2 separate regions of the Homo sapiens genome follow, and region 2 is linked to region 1. Evidence: promoter capture Hi-C in 16 types of primary human blood cells and fetal thymus (Javierre and others, 2016). All regions are on one chromosome and are shown on one strand. Each heading gives the region's core, a stretch centred on a gene start or on the middle of the fragment in contact. The rest is flanking DNA. Distances are from core to core; before and after follow the strand shown.

Evidence for each region. Contacts are between HindIII fragments. The CHiCAGO score rates a contact against its expected background, and 5 or more counts as called.
Region 2: a contact is called between a fragment that was not itself captured here and the fragment with the promoter of ISOC1 in region 1, in 1 of 17 cell types (total CD4 T cells). The highest score is 5.2, in total CD4 T cells.

What each region holds. Positions count from the first base shown.
Region 1 is chr5:129,091,017-129,097,844 of GRCh38, forward strand. ISOC1 (isochorismatase domain containing 1) reads left to right here and starts at 3,733. Exons shown (of 5, transcript NM_016048.2): 1 at 3,733-4,059. The coding sequence starts at 3,751. It overlaps LOC124901060 (a long non-coding RNA gene), which reads right to left and starts at 5,763. Exons shown (of 2, transcript XR_007058926.1): 1 at 5,533-5,763; 2 at 1,910-4,383. MIR4633 (microRNA 4633) reads left to right here and starts at 6,672; the gene lies at 6,672-6,750. RefSeq lists a silencer at 3,351-4,130. The HindIII fragment of the contact is 22,217 bases long and covers 1-6,828 here.
Region 2 is chr5:128,074,532-128,082,114 of GRCh38, forward strand. The region is part of intron 1 of SLC12A2-DT (SLC12A2 divergent transcript); the gene reads right to left. Among named protein-coding and RNA genes, the nearest start is that of SLC12A2-DT, 4.9 kb to the right of the region's middle. The HindIII fragment of the contact is 1,526 bases long and covers 4,099-5,624 here.

The sequences.
Region 1 (6,828 bases), core at 2,483-4,982:
GTATTTCCTCCATATTTTTCAAATTCTTAATTACAGTGAAGGCATTCCTTTCCAGTAGTATATGATTCTAGTTCATCTTGCTGGAAGTTTAAAAAAACTGCCAGGGGCTATCTGTGCTCCACAGATATTAGTGGTTAGGTATTCATTATCTGCCCAACAGTGGGTGACCCAGCTCCAAAATCCATCCACATTGGCCTCCTTTCATCTTTCCTAGCAACAAATGTCACAGGTTGATTTCCCTGGAAAGCAGACTCTGAGATAAAAATCAGCACACTGAAGACTTAATAGACAGTGCTATTTTGGCTATTATTTCTTCCAATATTCTTTCTGTTCCATTCTTGTCTCATCTCTCCCTCTTGGACTCCAACTACATATTAGATCATTTGATATTGCCCTCCAGGTTACTAAAACTGTCATCATACTTTTTTCAATCTCTTCCTGTTCTTCACATTGGATAATTTCTAGTACTCTGCATGCAATTTCACTAATCATTTCTTCTGGAACCTATAATCTGAAGTTTAGATTACCCAGTGAGCATTTCACTCCAGACATTGCACTTTTAGCTTGAAAAGTGACATTTGGCTATGTTTTCAGTCATCTCCATCTCCCTGCTGGTATTCCCTATCTGCTCAGTCTTATGGCTACCCTTTCTTTTAAGACCTTGAATATACTTGTAACAACTTCTTTAAAGTTCTTTTTCTCTTAATCCTAACATCTAGATTGTCTTGAGGTCTATTTTTATATACTGGAGGATTCTGAACACAGCAGTGACACGCTCTAAATTTATGTTTTTGAAAAAGTGCCACTCTAATAGCCGTGTGGTAAATGGAGTATAAAAGTCTATGTAAATGAGGTAAATGGATAAATAGGGATACAAAAGTCAAATATTGGGCACAACTTATGATGAGTTACAGTTAGATGGAAGACGACAGTGGTTTTGTCTTAGGTGGTGGCACTGGTGTGAATGAGAGGAATTTGGTTCTGACCACCAGGTCTTGCTGATAGACTGGACAAGGACAGAAAGAGGAGTAAATTAAAGGATAAACCCCTGGTTATTGTACTCAGTTACTAAAACGGGGTTGCCATTTGCCTAGATATCAACAGGGGAGAGAAAATATTCGAGGACAGAAGAAAACTAAGAGTTCTGTTAGTACATTTAAATGTGAGGTATCTATTGAATATCCAAGTGGAGATGTCGAATAGGCACTTGTGTATGAGTATGGAGTGCAGAGTGAGGGCCTGGATGTTAAAAATTTGGAAGTCAAAGGTATATGGGTGATATTTAAAGCCACAGTCTTAGGATAATAGATGTGAGGACTGAGCTCTGGTATACTTGTATTTATAGAGGTTTGGGGAATGAGAGGAACATAGGAAACGAGCTTGAAGTGAGGTGGAAGGAGAAATAAGAGAGAGTGGTATCCCAAAGACAAAGTGAATATGGTTCAAAATAAAGGGAGTAATTGGTTTGTCAAATGTTGCTGTTAACTGGGAAAGGTGAGAAATAAGCCTTTGTTTTATCAGTCTATTGAGATTTTGGGGTTTGTTTCTGTAGCATATTAATGTATTAATCAATACTGTGTAATATACCTTCTTGATTTTCTTGGAATTTAGATTCTAAAAGTAAGCATTTAACATTAACTAATAAAGCTACTGAGAGTCCTATATGAGAAAATTTTGGGCATTTGGTCCATAATATGATCTTGTCAATTAGAACAGTTATTTTCTACTTGTCATTTGAATATTCATTTATGGGGTCTTACTCACTTTTTCTGGTAACATTTATAAAAATTATCTTAATAATTGTATTTCTGAGGATAATAATTTATCACTGAAATGTGCATTCACCTCCCTTTTGCAGCCCAGTGATGCAGAGGTTGATACACAGTTGATATTCAATAAATGGTAAATGTGCCCATCAAATATCTATTTTATTAATGTTATTTAACATGCTATTACCACAATGATTGCACCATTAAACTAGGTTGTCAAGGACCAATCTCAGACAGCACAATATATATGGAAGTTGATTTCCTTACTGAAGGGTCAGAAACCTAATTTAAAAACATGAAAGGGAAATGAAGTATGTTGACTCACGGCCATGAGGGCCACGGCAGAAGACTGTGTAGATGCCAAGGTCCTCGCTGAGGATGTCTGAAGTCTAGGCCAATCTCTAATCTCCAACCTACTCTGTGTTAGGAGGCTTTACAGGGTGGAAGGAACACTTTTATTAGTCCACCCAAAATAGGTAGGTACCTTTTGGTAATCAGGTCTTGAGGGGGTACACTTATTAGCACAAATCAGCATATCTGCATATAGAAGACCTTGCAATGGAGTGGTATCCGGAAAAAAATATCATTTTGGGTCTGACGGGTTCAGACAACACTTTTAAATGGGATCTCTCAAAGTGTGATGAGAACCAGAAAAAAATGGCTATTTCTAGTAGCTTCGGTACAATTGAGCAAGAAACACCAAAGGATGGTCTTTTCATAACTTTAAAGCAGTGTGGTTCTCAAGTAGGGGGTATATTTGCCCTCTGGGGAATATTTGGCAATGTCTGGAAACATTTTTGATTGCCATAACTAGAGGGAGGAGCGGTCACTAGGCATCTAGCGGGAGTAGAAGCCGGTGATGCTGCTAAATATCCTGCAAATGCACAAGATGCCCCATCCCCAAGAAAGAGAAATGTCCATTCCAGAAGTCAACAGTGTCAGTTGGGAAACCCTGCTTTAAAGGTTATTTTCTTAGAAGAGGACAGCTTTAATACCTAAAATCTAATTTTATGTTTAGGCCCATGCCTATCTTCGCAGGACTCAATTCCAAGGAAATTCTGTTCATAATGCATGCTTTCTAATTCCAGTTAATTATAGCGCCTTACAGTGTGCAGAAGGCAGAGGATTGTTTTATTTGAAAGTGATCCCTTTTACTTACTTAAAAACAGATATCCTTAGTTTCAATATAAAGTTCAGATTTTTGCTTTTAATAGTATTTATATTCCCAAATCCAAGTCCTCCCAGAAATAGGTTGAGATGAAGGGAGGCCAGATATCAAATCCATTCCTAGAGATATTGTGTTCTGTGGGACCGAAAAAAGACAAAACTTGAACCTTGACTGGCCCTCTAAGGATTAAATTCTGCTGCTCTTCTTAGGGTATCTATCGGACTGTCCCTTTGGTTGTAAGATACCACTGCCATCTCGAGGAGGACTGCATGCTTCTGCACAGAGCCAACAGGTAACTCGTCCTGGCGGCTCTGTGTACCCAACCACAACCCTAGACTGCCAAGAACACTGCTCATTCGAAGGCGAGCGAAGCCGCGAAGAGGGCCAGCGTTAGGGGAAGGGTGGTACAAACCCTTGTGTGAGCTGCAGCACCGGGGCAAGAACAACGGGCAGCCCAGGCGGGTCTTGGGTCTGCGAGACCACTAGGCGTTCTGCCGGCAGTCAGAACCGCGGCAGAAAGGGCGCGAGCGGGGAACTGCGGGAACGCAGCGGCCCGGGAAGCTGGAGGGGGCGGACCCGGCCGGCGAGCGCAGGCGCTCCCTGGCTCACGCGCGCACCCCGGCCCCACCACCCACCCTTACGCCGCGGCCCGCCCTCCGGGGCGGGTAAGAGAGCGCGCGAGCAGCGGTCGTCAGGACACGCCCCTTCGCCTCCGCGAGCTGGCGGGCGGGCTGGCATCGCCGGGAGGCGGGGCCGCGGCAGCCGGCTGGGTGCGACTGGGCGGCCTCGGAGCTCGCAGACGCTCGGGGGAACATGGCGGCTGCGGAGCCGGCGGTCCTTGCGCTCCCCAACAGCGGCGCCGGGGGCGCGGGGGCGCCGTCGGGCACAGTCCCGGTGCTCTTCTGTTTCTCAGTCTTCGCGCGACCCTCGTCGGTGCCACACGGGGCGGGCTACGAGCTGCTCATCCAGAAGTTCCTCAGCCTGTACGGCGACCAGATCGACATGCACCGCAAATTCGTGGTGCAGCTGTTCGCCGAGGAGTGGGGCCAGTACGTGGACTTGCCCAAGGGCTTCGCGGTGAGCGAGCGCTGCAAGGTGCGCCTCGTGCCGTTGCAGATCCAGGTGGGTCCTGCGGGAGGCCGCGCGCTTCCCTGTTCCCGAGTCGTCCCCGTCCCCGTCCCTGTCCCCGCCTTCGCCGCGCTCCTCAGGTGCCCCGAGCCGCCCGGGACCCGGGCCCTGCGCGAGTGGCTGAGTCCGAAGGGCTGCGCGTCTTTCGCAAGTTCCGGGGCCGGCTGGGGAATGCCCCTGTCCAAAGGTGATGGTCACCAGCTGTCCCCGGCGGGGGCGTGGGCCTCGTAGCTGGTTTCAGCGCCCGCGAACGCCCCCACGTGTGTGGTCCTCGGTCGCCCGCATCCGCTTTTTATGCCAGGATCAGGTCCCAGCCTCCTGCGTAACCAAAGGGCTGTGCTGTAGTAGCTGTTTTTATTTTGGGGTGATGGGTGATGCAGAATGGGGGGAAATGAGATTGTGGGGAGTATTGGTCTTAGGGTTTGTTCCTAGAGTTGTGTTAACCACTTGCGGAAACGCAAACTTTGGGAGTCAAACCCATTCCCCCCCGCCTTCCCAGGCTCTCAGGTCCTTGGGCTTAAGAGTTCCCTAACCTTAAGCAAATAACCATTTGCTTAGCCTCCTCTTAGTAAAGTGTCTACTGACTTGATTACGTTTTGTCGTCTGCATTGAAAAAGTCATTTGACTCCATGATTGTAATTCCTTCTTGAATACAAATACCCAACTTAAGCTAGACCTTGAGTTCCTGGGCCTGCTGGCTGGGAAAGTTGTTCTACCTGAGGACTACTTAACAGCATTTATTTTAAGCTGTGCTCTCATGCTAGGCGGGTTAATCTTCCGCCCTCTTTAGGATCAGATTGTTCACTGGCGAATTTATATTTTGGAAAGGAAAGAATATAAGGTATAATTTAGGTAGTACACTGTCGATATCATTTCTTTAGCTGAGAAACTGATAAGTCATTTTTTCAGAAGACCAAACTGAAATGTGGGATTCGGGGATAAAAGGTATTTTAATATTTAAGTGTCATTTTCTTTCTTTTTTGTTTTTAGTTTTTATGGGCACATAATAGTTGTACATATTTATAGGAGACGTGATATTTTGATTCAAGCATACAGTGTAGTGATCAAATCAGGGTAATTGGAATATCCATTACCTGAAACATTTATCATTTATTTCTTTGTTCCAAATTCATTTTTGTAGTTATTTTGAAATATACAATAAATTATTGTTAACTATAGTCACGCTATTGTGCTACTGAACACTAGAGCTTATTCCTATTATCTGTGTTTTTTGTACCCATTAACAGTGCCATTTTCTGAGGATTATTCCCTAGTTTTTTTCCGCTGTAGTTGGCAGCTGAATTGATGATGTTTCCTGTCACCCCAACACCTGTGCCAGAAGTGTCCAAAGCAGGTACTTTAGCTTCGATAAAGTTCCTGCATTCAGAGGACAAAGTCAGAGACTGCACTCTCTGCCAGTGGAGAACCTGGAACTGGATACAGTGATCTGATACCCCAGAATCTTACCTGCTGCTCAGATAGGGAATTGCAGTTCTTAGGTGCTTAAGACTCCTCATTTTTATGTCTTCAAGCGTTTTCGTGTCTGACACCTCTCTGCAGCCTTCCTTGTCAGTCCTTTTACGTTACTGCTGCCAGAATACTCAGATGTTGGATGCACCTTTGAGAAGTCCATTTATAAAGGCTAGAATCCAAATACTAACTGCGGAGGTCTGGGACTAAGGATGCAGACTTCTTTATGAAGCATTTCCTGTTACGGCTTGGAGGGAGGCTGGGCTCTTATCTAAGATAATGCTATTCTAAACTAGGCCCCAGCTCTGTAAGAGTCCCCGCCTTCCAAGATAGGATTTTTATATTTGAAAATTTCAGGGCCTTGGTCTGGCAACTCTTAAAAACATTCTAGAAATTAATGAAATGTATGTACCTGAAAACGCTTGTACATTCTCAAAAGGCGTTATATAATTCTGGTCACCTGTAGCTTTTGCAGTGTTTTGCTTGGTATAGGAGATTATGTATAGTTCACTTTTTTTTGGTGAGGTTTAAAATAACAATAGCATTACTCTACTCCCTCTTCAGAAGAAATTTTTCCGCCAACTAGTCTAATAATTCTTAAGCATTAGTTATATTTTTGCATTTATATAGCTTTATATTTTTAATTCTTTAAAAATATTTTCTCTTCTATATTATCTCATTTTAGTAGTTATACTTTGACTTCTTCAGCCTGATGCCTCTCCTAGCTTAGAGGTAGATAAAGGAAGGGGATAGATACATAAATATGCACACACTGTGTATCGTATATACCTTCTGATACCGATTTATGTCTATATGAGAAGAGAGAGATATATATACACACATACATATATATGCATATGTGTGTATAATCTCAGAAAGTCATGATATTTCTCATGACTACTGTACACTATATTCTTTGGAACCTAACAGCATAATCCTAGAGACTTGGATGTTTTATGGCTGTAAGAGACCATACAGTTCATTCCACAACATGTGAGTGGCAGCTTTAAATGCCTGGCACAGTGAATGCAAACTTGGATTCAATTCTTGTTCCTTACCTAATAAATGAACTTTCACTTTGAGGAAGTGCAGAAGAACATAGGGAGGTGGAGGTGAGTAACTTGCTGCAGGTTACATGGCAAGTCTCCGCATATGCCTGGCTAGCTCCTCCACAAATGCGTGTGGAGGAGCTAGCCAGGCATATGCAGAGCGTCACTTACAGCCGAACACAGCACTACTGCTTGCATGTTTAATGAGAATTGAGCAGTCTGGAAAACAAGTCACAAACTTGAG
Region 2 (7,583 bases), core at 3,612-6,111, 1.0 Mb before region 1:
TTATGTCCTTCCAAAACTACACACAGAGAGGTAATTCCAGTAAAAGAATTACCCCCACCTCACCAAAGAAACAAAACAAAACCCAAACAAAAACAACAAGAAAAATGTGTATGCTATTACCACAACAAGAGAGAATGGAAACCCCACTTCTAGGATACAGTAATGGTCTTCTATAGATATCAATGGGCAATTCAGAAATAAAAATATATAAATGATTAAGAAACTTTAAAAACTATAACCTCACTAGAAGTCAATGATCTGCAAATTAAACTTTTGTTGTTTTTTTTTTTTGCTAATCAGATTGACAAAGATTAAGAAAGATTTTACTCTGACTTTATAAGGGTGGTGGAAGGCAGAAATTCAAACACAATGTTGACAGAAGGATAAATTGATAATAACCTTTCTGAAAATCAATTTTGATATGTATGCCAAAAGTTTTAAAAATATACATACCCTGCTATTTCACTTCTAAGAATTTATCCTAAGGAAATACTCAATTAAGAAAGATATATGCACAAAGACATCCAATGTAGCACTGCTTGCTCTTATTTAAAAATGAAATAAACAGGGTTCAAAAATAGGTGATAGAGTCAGTAAATTATGATAAATCTACATGATGCAATATTATGAAGCCATTAGAAATCATGCAATTGCAAGATATCCATTTTCATATATAGAGAAATGTTCACATTACTGGTTTTAAAAACTATAAAACATACCATAAATCATTTTGTAATACCATAAACAGGAAAATGTTATTTCAGGGTGATGGCATTATAAGTGTTACTTCCTTTTGCTTTTTTCCTATGACTTCTATATTAATTATTACTTTATAAATAGAAAGATGTTATAAATAATAAATATCTACTTGACTTATAGATATTAAATTCTTGATATATATCCTATTATATATCAAGAATTATATATTATATCAAGAATTATATAATATGGAATATATATCAATAATATCTATCTATATTATATAATATATATTAAGAATTTTATGTCTCTAGAAATTGGTTACAATTCAACCAGGCATGGTGGGTGTCTCAGCCTGTAATCCCAGCACTTTGGGAGGTCAAGGCCGGCAGATCACTTGAAGTCAGGAGTTCGAGACCAGCCTGGCCAACATGGTAAAACTCCATCTCTACTAAAAATACAAAAATTAACCAGGCCTGTTCGTGAGCACCTGTAATCCCAGCTACTTGGGAGATTGAGGCAGGAGAATCACTTGAACCCGGGAGGCAGAGGTTGCAGTGAGCCGAGATCATGCCACTGCACTCCAGCCTGGACAACAGAGAGAAACTCAGTCTCAAAAAAAAAAAAAAAAAAAAAAAAAATTGGTTACAATTGAGGTGGAATTTTAGTTCAAATCTCTTAAAAAACAAGAAACATTTCTTGACTAATCAGAAGAGCTGATACTCAGGGCCATATTCAAAGTCAGCTGGTACTTCAGTTTTAAATGAAAACAATTACATGAACCGTAATAACCTGCCTTTACCTTCATACTCATGTTTTTAAAAACTGCCATATTGAACCTAATAGTTTTGGCCCACATTTAAAGGAAGATTAAATTACTTGGAAAGGGCCCAGAGGACAGTAATAAAAATAATTACATACTTAGAAATTTGGTCCTATAATGACATGCAAGAGGAAATCATTTAGAAAATAAAACTGAAAATAACCTTACACTTTTACGGGTTACCATAACCTCTGAAGAATGGGACAAGAAGCCAAAGAATTGAATTATAATGAGAATAATTTAATTTAGTCATTAGGAAGAACATCTTATTCCTCAATAAGTATTTGAGTGATTATTAATGTCCAATGCTATGGCATAAGGACTTGTAACCACTAGGATGTGTTACTAGAAATTATTTTCTTAAAAGTGTCAGAGGTAGAATATTGTGCAAAGTAGGGGCTTATTACATAACCCTTTAAGATCTTTTCCATATTTATGATTTTTACAAAATTTCAGGCATCTAGAATAATTATAAAAACATATCTTATTTTTATGGCTTTTTAAAAGTGAAAATAGATTAATAATTAAGAAATATAAGAGGATAAAAATATTAGAGATTTTTCATTAACATTGAGGAAAATATAAGTATACAGTTAGTTAGGAAACGCATTATATTATTTGACTCCATAAAGGGGAAGCAATTAAACTAATTATTAAGATATGAGTACATGTGTGTTAAGTGTCAGTATTTGTATTTTAAATCTCTTTTTTTTTAAAGTATAGTGCAATGTAGTGAATGCAGACAAAATGTTCCTATAACATATCTGTACAGATTTTTTTCTAAGACGGGAGTCTTGCTATGTTGTCCAGGCTGGTCTTGAACTCTGGGGCTGAAGCGATACTCCTGGCTTAGCCTCCCTAGTAGCTGGGACTACAGGCACACACCAACTTACCAGTAACACATTAGTTTTAAGGGGCTCAGATGAAGGAAAATAAAATGGATTTAAGATGAGTAAAAAAGAATCCTCCTTTGTCTGGGCTTGTTCCATCTTCCAAATATGTAGCAGCAACATAATGACACTAAAAACTGCCCTAAAAATCTGTAACAGAAAAAAAAAATAGCTTACATGCTACTCAAAAAATTACCTAAATACCTCTCAAAATCAAAACAAAAAGCAAAGTAAAAAATAAAACAGGACATACTTGCAAGAAAAGATATGACCTAAAGGTTGTATCTTAGCCCTGTTTGTTTTTTGAATAAAATATTAAGTTTTAAGCATTTATTTACTGTTTACATACATTAGGCCTTACCATATTATCAGGCACTATTCTAAGTATTTTACGAATAGTACTTTATGTAATCCTCATAGCTCCACAAGTATGAGGGTGTGGTGGCTCATGCCTGTAATCCTAGCACTTTGGAAAGCAGACTGCTTAAGTCCAGGAGTTCAAGACCAGCTTAGGCAACATGGCCATACCCTGTTTCTACAAAAAACAAAAAAATTAGCCGGGGATGGTGGCCTGCACCTGTGGTCCCAGCTACTCAGGAGGCTGAGGTGGGAGGATCACTTGAGCCTGGGAGATCAAGGCTGCAGTGAGCTGTGATCTTACCACTGCACTCCAGACTGGGTGACAGAGCGAGACTCTGTCTAAAAAAAAAAAAAGCTACCATTGTTATACCCCATTTTATAGATTAGGAAACTGAGGCACAGAGGTCACACTAAGCCAAGATCACACAACAAATAGCGGAGCTGATGGAGCTGAGATTCAAATCCAGGCAGTCTGGTGCTGGAGTCCATGTGTGTAATCACTAAGCTATTATATACAAGTAATTCCTTCAAATATTAATATTTGATAACAATTTTGAACTTTGAAGTTTGCAAATATCCACAGCCTGTATAGTTAGAAGTACAAAAGTAATCACAAATAACTTTTCTAATACAGATTTTAAATTGGAAAAGATTTCTTTGAATAGCTTTACAACAAACATGTGTAGACAAAAGTAGGGATAAGAAAGAAAGACTGTTTTTTAAATGCATTTGTCATGAATTTACTACCTGGGTAAGCAAAAAACTTGAGCTGTCTCTTTTGAAAGACATAATTTACAAATATGAATTTATATATTGTCTAGAGGAAAAGCACAGTACAATTTCAATTAATGTTTAATTCTATGACTGACTAAAATCTTTATAATATTTTTAATTAAAGAAGAAGGTGACCGGGACTTAGGTAAGAAAGCAAAATTATAACATTTACTACATAACAAGTTTTTTGTTTTTTTTTTTACATAAACAAGCTTTGTTTCTTACAAAAAAAAACAAGCTTCTTCTTTTTTTTTTTTTTTTGGATACAGAGTCTCACTCTGTCGCACAGGCTACAGCATAGTGCCGCAGTCTCGGCTCAATGAGGCCTCTGCCTCCCGGGTTCAAGCAATTCTCATGCCTCAGCCTCCCTAGTAGCTGGGATTACAGACATGCACCACTACACCCAACTAATTTTTGTATTTTTAGTAGAGACAGGGTTTCCCCATGTTGGCCAGGCTGGTCTCGAACTCCTGGCCTCATCTGATCCGCCTGCCTCGGCCTCCCAAAGTGCTGGGATTATAGGCATGAGCTACTGTGCTAGGCCTATAAAAAAGCTTCTTTAGGGTAACTTTTTTCTTTTTTCTGTAACAGAATAATCACATTATTTCTCAAGGGAAATACCATTTACTCAATTTGTACTCTGAATGCCATCTAATAAAACAGCAAAGCCACAACCATGCAGAATGTCAGCACAGCATGTCTAACTAAAACTCACTGTAAGAAAAAAAAGGAAAAGAGAGCTGATTTCAAAGGTTCTACATGGCTTTGCACTTCACATGCTCTGATGCTGCAGATATGAGAAGTTGTAGGTCTAACATAATTTATATCTTCTTTTAGGATACTTTGGCATTTGTGAATTGAGAAGTTTGGAAAACAACTACGCAAGTCACTTCTAATCCTAAAATTCCAACTACATGAAATAAATATTAGTAAGTACTCAGACACACACAATGTCAAAGGCTGGCCTTGTGGCAAAAAGGAAATACAGCAAAATCAGTCAGGTTCCCACCACGGCACTGATAGCAAGTCTGTTCTCAAGGTTAGTCTCTAAACTGACACCTGGTAAGTCTGACAATGAAATATTTGCCAACAATTAAGTAAAGGAGATCTCTCCTGATAAATTTTTCATAAGTTTCACATAATACACTTTGATATTTCCTGGAATGTTTGTGGCCCTCCCCTCACTGCATTGCTCTCTCATTTTGTTGGCTAATACATGTTACTAAAGTCAATATATATTCAACTCATTTTTCTCTGCCTCTTGGCCCAATTTAACACAGCTGATCCTGTTTTCAAATGCCTTCATCTGATTTTCTTCTCACCTCCTGACCTTTGTAGGTCTTTTATGTGCTCATTAATGTTGGAATTACTTATTTTTTCCTTAACCAAGTTTTTCATCTGTAAAATGGATGTAATCTTATGATTTTCTTCATAGTGTTGCGAGAATTCAGTAAGATTATGAATGTATAGATTTTGGCACAGTATCCAGGACCTAAATTCTCTATAAAGGCTAACTACTATTACTACTATCAACTCACAGCTAGATTAGTGAAATTGTGTCCTGACTTTCCATGCTTATTCTTCCTCTTCTCCACTCTTCTGCTCATAATATAACTAGTTTTATTTTTATTTATTTATTTTTTGAGACAGTGTCTCACTCTGTCGCCCAGGCTGGGTGCTGTGGCACAATCATAGCTCACTACAACCCCCACCTCAAGTGATCCTCCCACCTCAGCCTCCCAGGGAGCTGGGAATACAGGTGCGTGCCACCACGCCCCACTAATTTTTGAATTTTTGTGGGTTTTTTTGGTAGAGATGGGGTTTCATTATTGTTGTCCAGGCTGGTCTCGAATTCCTGAGCTCAAGCCATATACCCGCCTTGGCCTCCCAAGTGCTGGGATTACAGGTGTGAGCCACCTTGCCAGGCCTAGAGAGTTTTAATAAGCACAAATCTGATTATGTGCCCCTCAATCTATCCAGAAACCCATTAATGCTTTTATAGGGCTTTTAGAATACAGACACATCTCTTACTACTTTTGCCCCCAATCCTTCCCTATGCTTTAACCAAACTGATTTCAAGCTTCTTGCTTCTTTGATAGTCCCTGCTCACTCCATGAGGGCATTTGTCCACAATATTTCCCTTGTTGGAAACCCTCTAGTGACAATTTGGTCCTAATTTTCCTTTAGACCTTTGCTAAAAAGTCACTTCTGTCTTGACTAAGTCTGGCCTATTTTGCATTTTCCTTATACTACGTTCCTATCCCCTAGAACTTCTGTTTGCAGTTACAAATTTATATGAGTGACTACTATTTATTATTAATACACATTTGTGTGTTTCTTCCAACAGACATCTCAGACTAAGCTCCTGATATTCATCCAACCCAAACCTGTTCCTTTAACCTCCTTTGCCATCTCAGAAAATAGCAATACTATTCTTCCAGTTGCTGAGGTCAAAACCCTTGGACTCTCACACTTCACATCCATCAGCAAATTCTATTGTTTCCCCAGAATTCAACTACTTTTCCCCATTTCCACTGATACCCACTGTGGTCAAAGCGCTATCATCACTTCCTGGATTGCTGTAATACCTCTTAACACATCTCCTTGCTTCTTTGACCCAACCATTTATCCCTTGCCTACCTACAAGACAGCTAGATGAATCCTTTAAAAATGGCAGATGTCATTCCTCCACTGAAACCTTCCAATAACCTGCCATCTGCCAAGGACTGTTGTGTACCCTGCTAAATTAATATGTTGAAGCCCGAATCCTCTCCTCACTCCTATGTGACTGTATTGGAGACAGTCCTTTTAAGGAGATAATTAAGGTTAAATGAGGTGATCAGGGTAAAGCCCTGATTCCACAGAACTGGTGCCCTTATAAGAAAAGAGACAACGCTCTCTTTATCATCTGAGGAGACATTGAGAAGGTACTGTCTGCAAGCCAAAAAGAAAACCCGAACATGATCATGCTGGCATTCTGATCTCAGACTTCCAGCAGGCAGAACTGTGAGAAAATATATTTCTACTGTTTGAGCCACCCAATCTATGTATTTTGTTATGGCAGCCTGAGCTGACTAACACACTATTCTACTAAAAAAGTCAAGTATGTCTAACAGCCAAAAAAGGTCCTAAACATTCTGATCTACTACATCCCATATCCTAAGCTCTCTGATGTAATTGCCTTTGATTCTTCACATCTCTTAAGCAAGTTCCAGCCAAACTGGCTTACATGCAATTCCGTGAGCATGCTAAGCATGCTCCTGCCTTTGGGTCTTTGGTTTCCCTCTGCTTCAGACACTTTTTTTCCCAAGAACTCATATCACTCACTTCCTTACTCAAATATCACCTTCTCAGTGAGGCCATCCTATGGAAAATTTTATGATCCTCATTTCACACAAATATCCCATTTCCCTTTCCTTAGTACTCACTGCTTGGATGCTATGTATTTTACCTATTTATCTTGTCTATTGTTTCTCTTTCTCACTAGAAAGAACTCCATGAGAGATGGGATTGTCCGTTTTGCTCACTGCTATATCCCGTAAATACAGAGTAGCTCATAGTACCTGTTCAGTATTTATTCAACTAAATGAATGTTGAATTCCAATAGTGGCAGAATTCGTTGTGGAGCTGAAAGGTACTGCACGGATCAACTACTAATGCAGCAATTCCCTAGTAGAAAACTGCACTGCTTAAAGGACCACCTCATTTTTCTGGCCTCCTCTGGTTATTACTAAAGCTCAAAAGGAGCTTTAAAAATCCTGATGCAACAGCTGTTTTCCCCTCTCACCGTCTTTAAAAATAGAGATAATAAAATAGCCTGAAAAGTTGTCAAGTTCAAGTAAGATCATGTTTATGACAATTTTTTGAAAATTGCCTGGTTGCAGCTTTTACTTACAGCATTTTCAAACAGTTCTGCCAACTCTGTGGCTCTTTCATCATGTTTCAAGTGTTCAGCAAACGATGGTGTTCGTCTCCATAAAGTCAAAGTTTAAAAATACAAGGGCCGGGCGCGGTGGCTCATGCCTGTAATCCCAGCA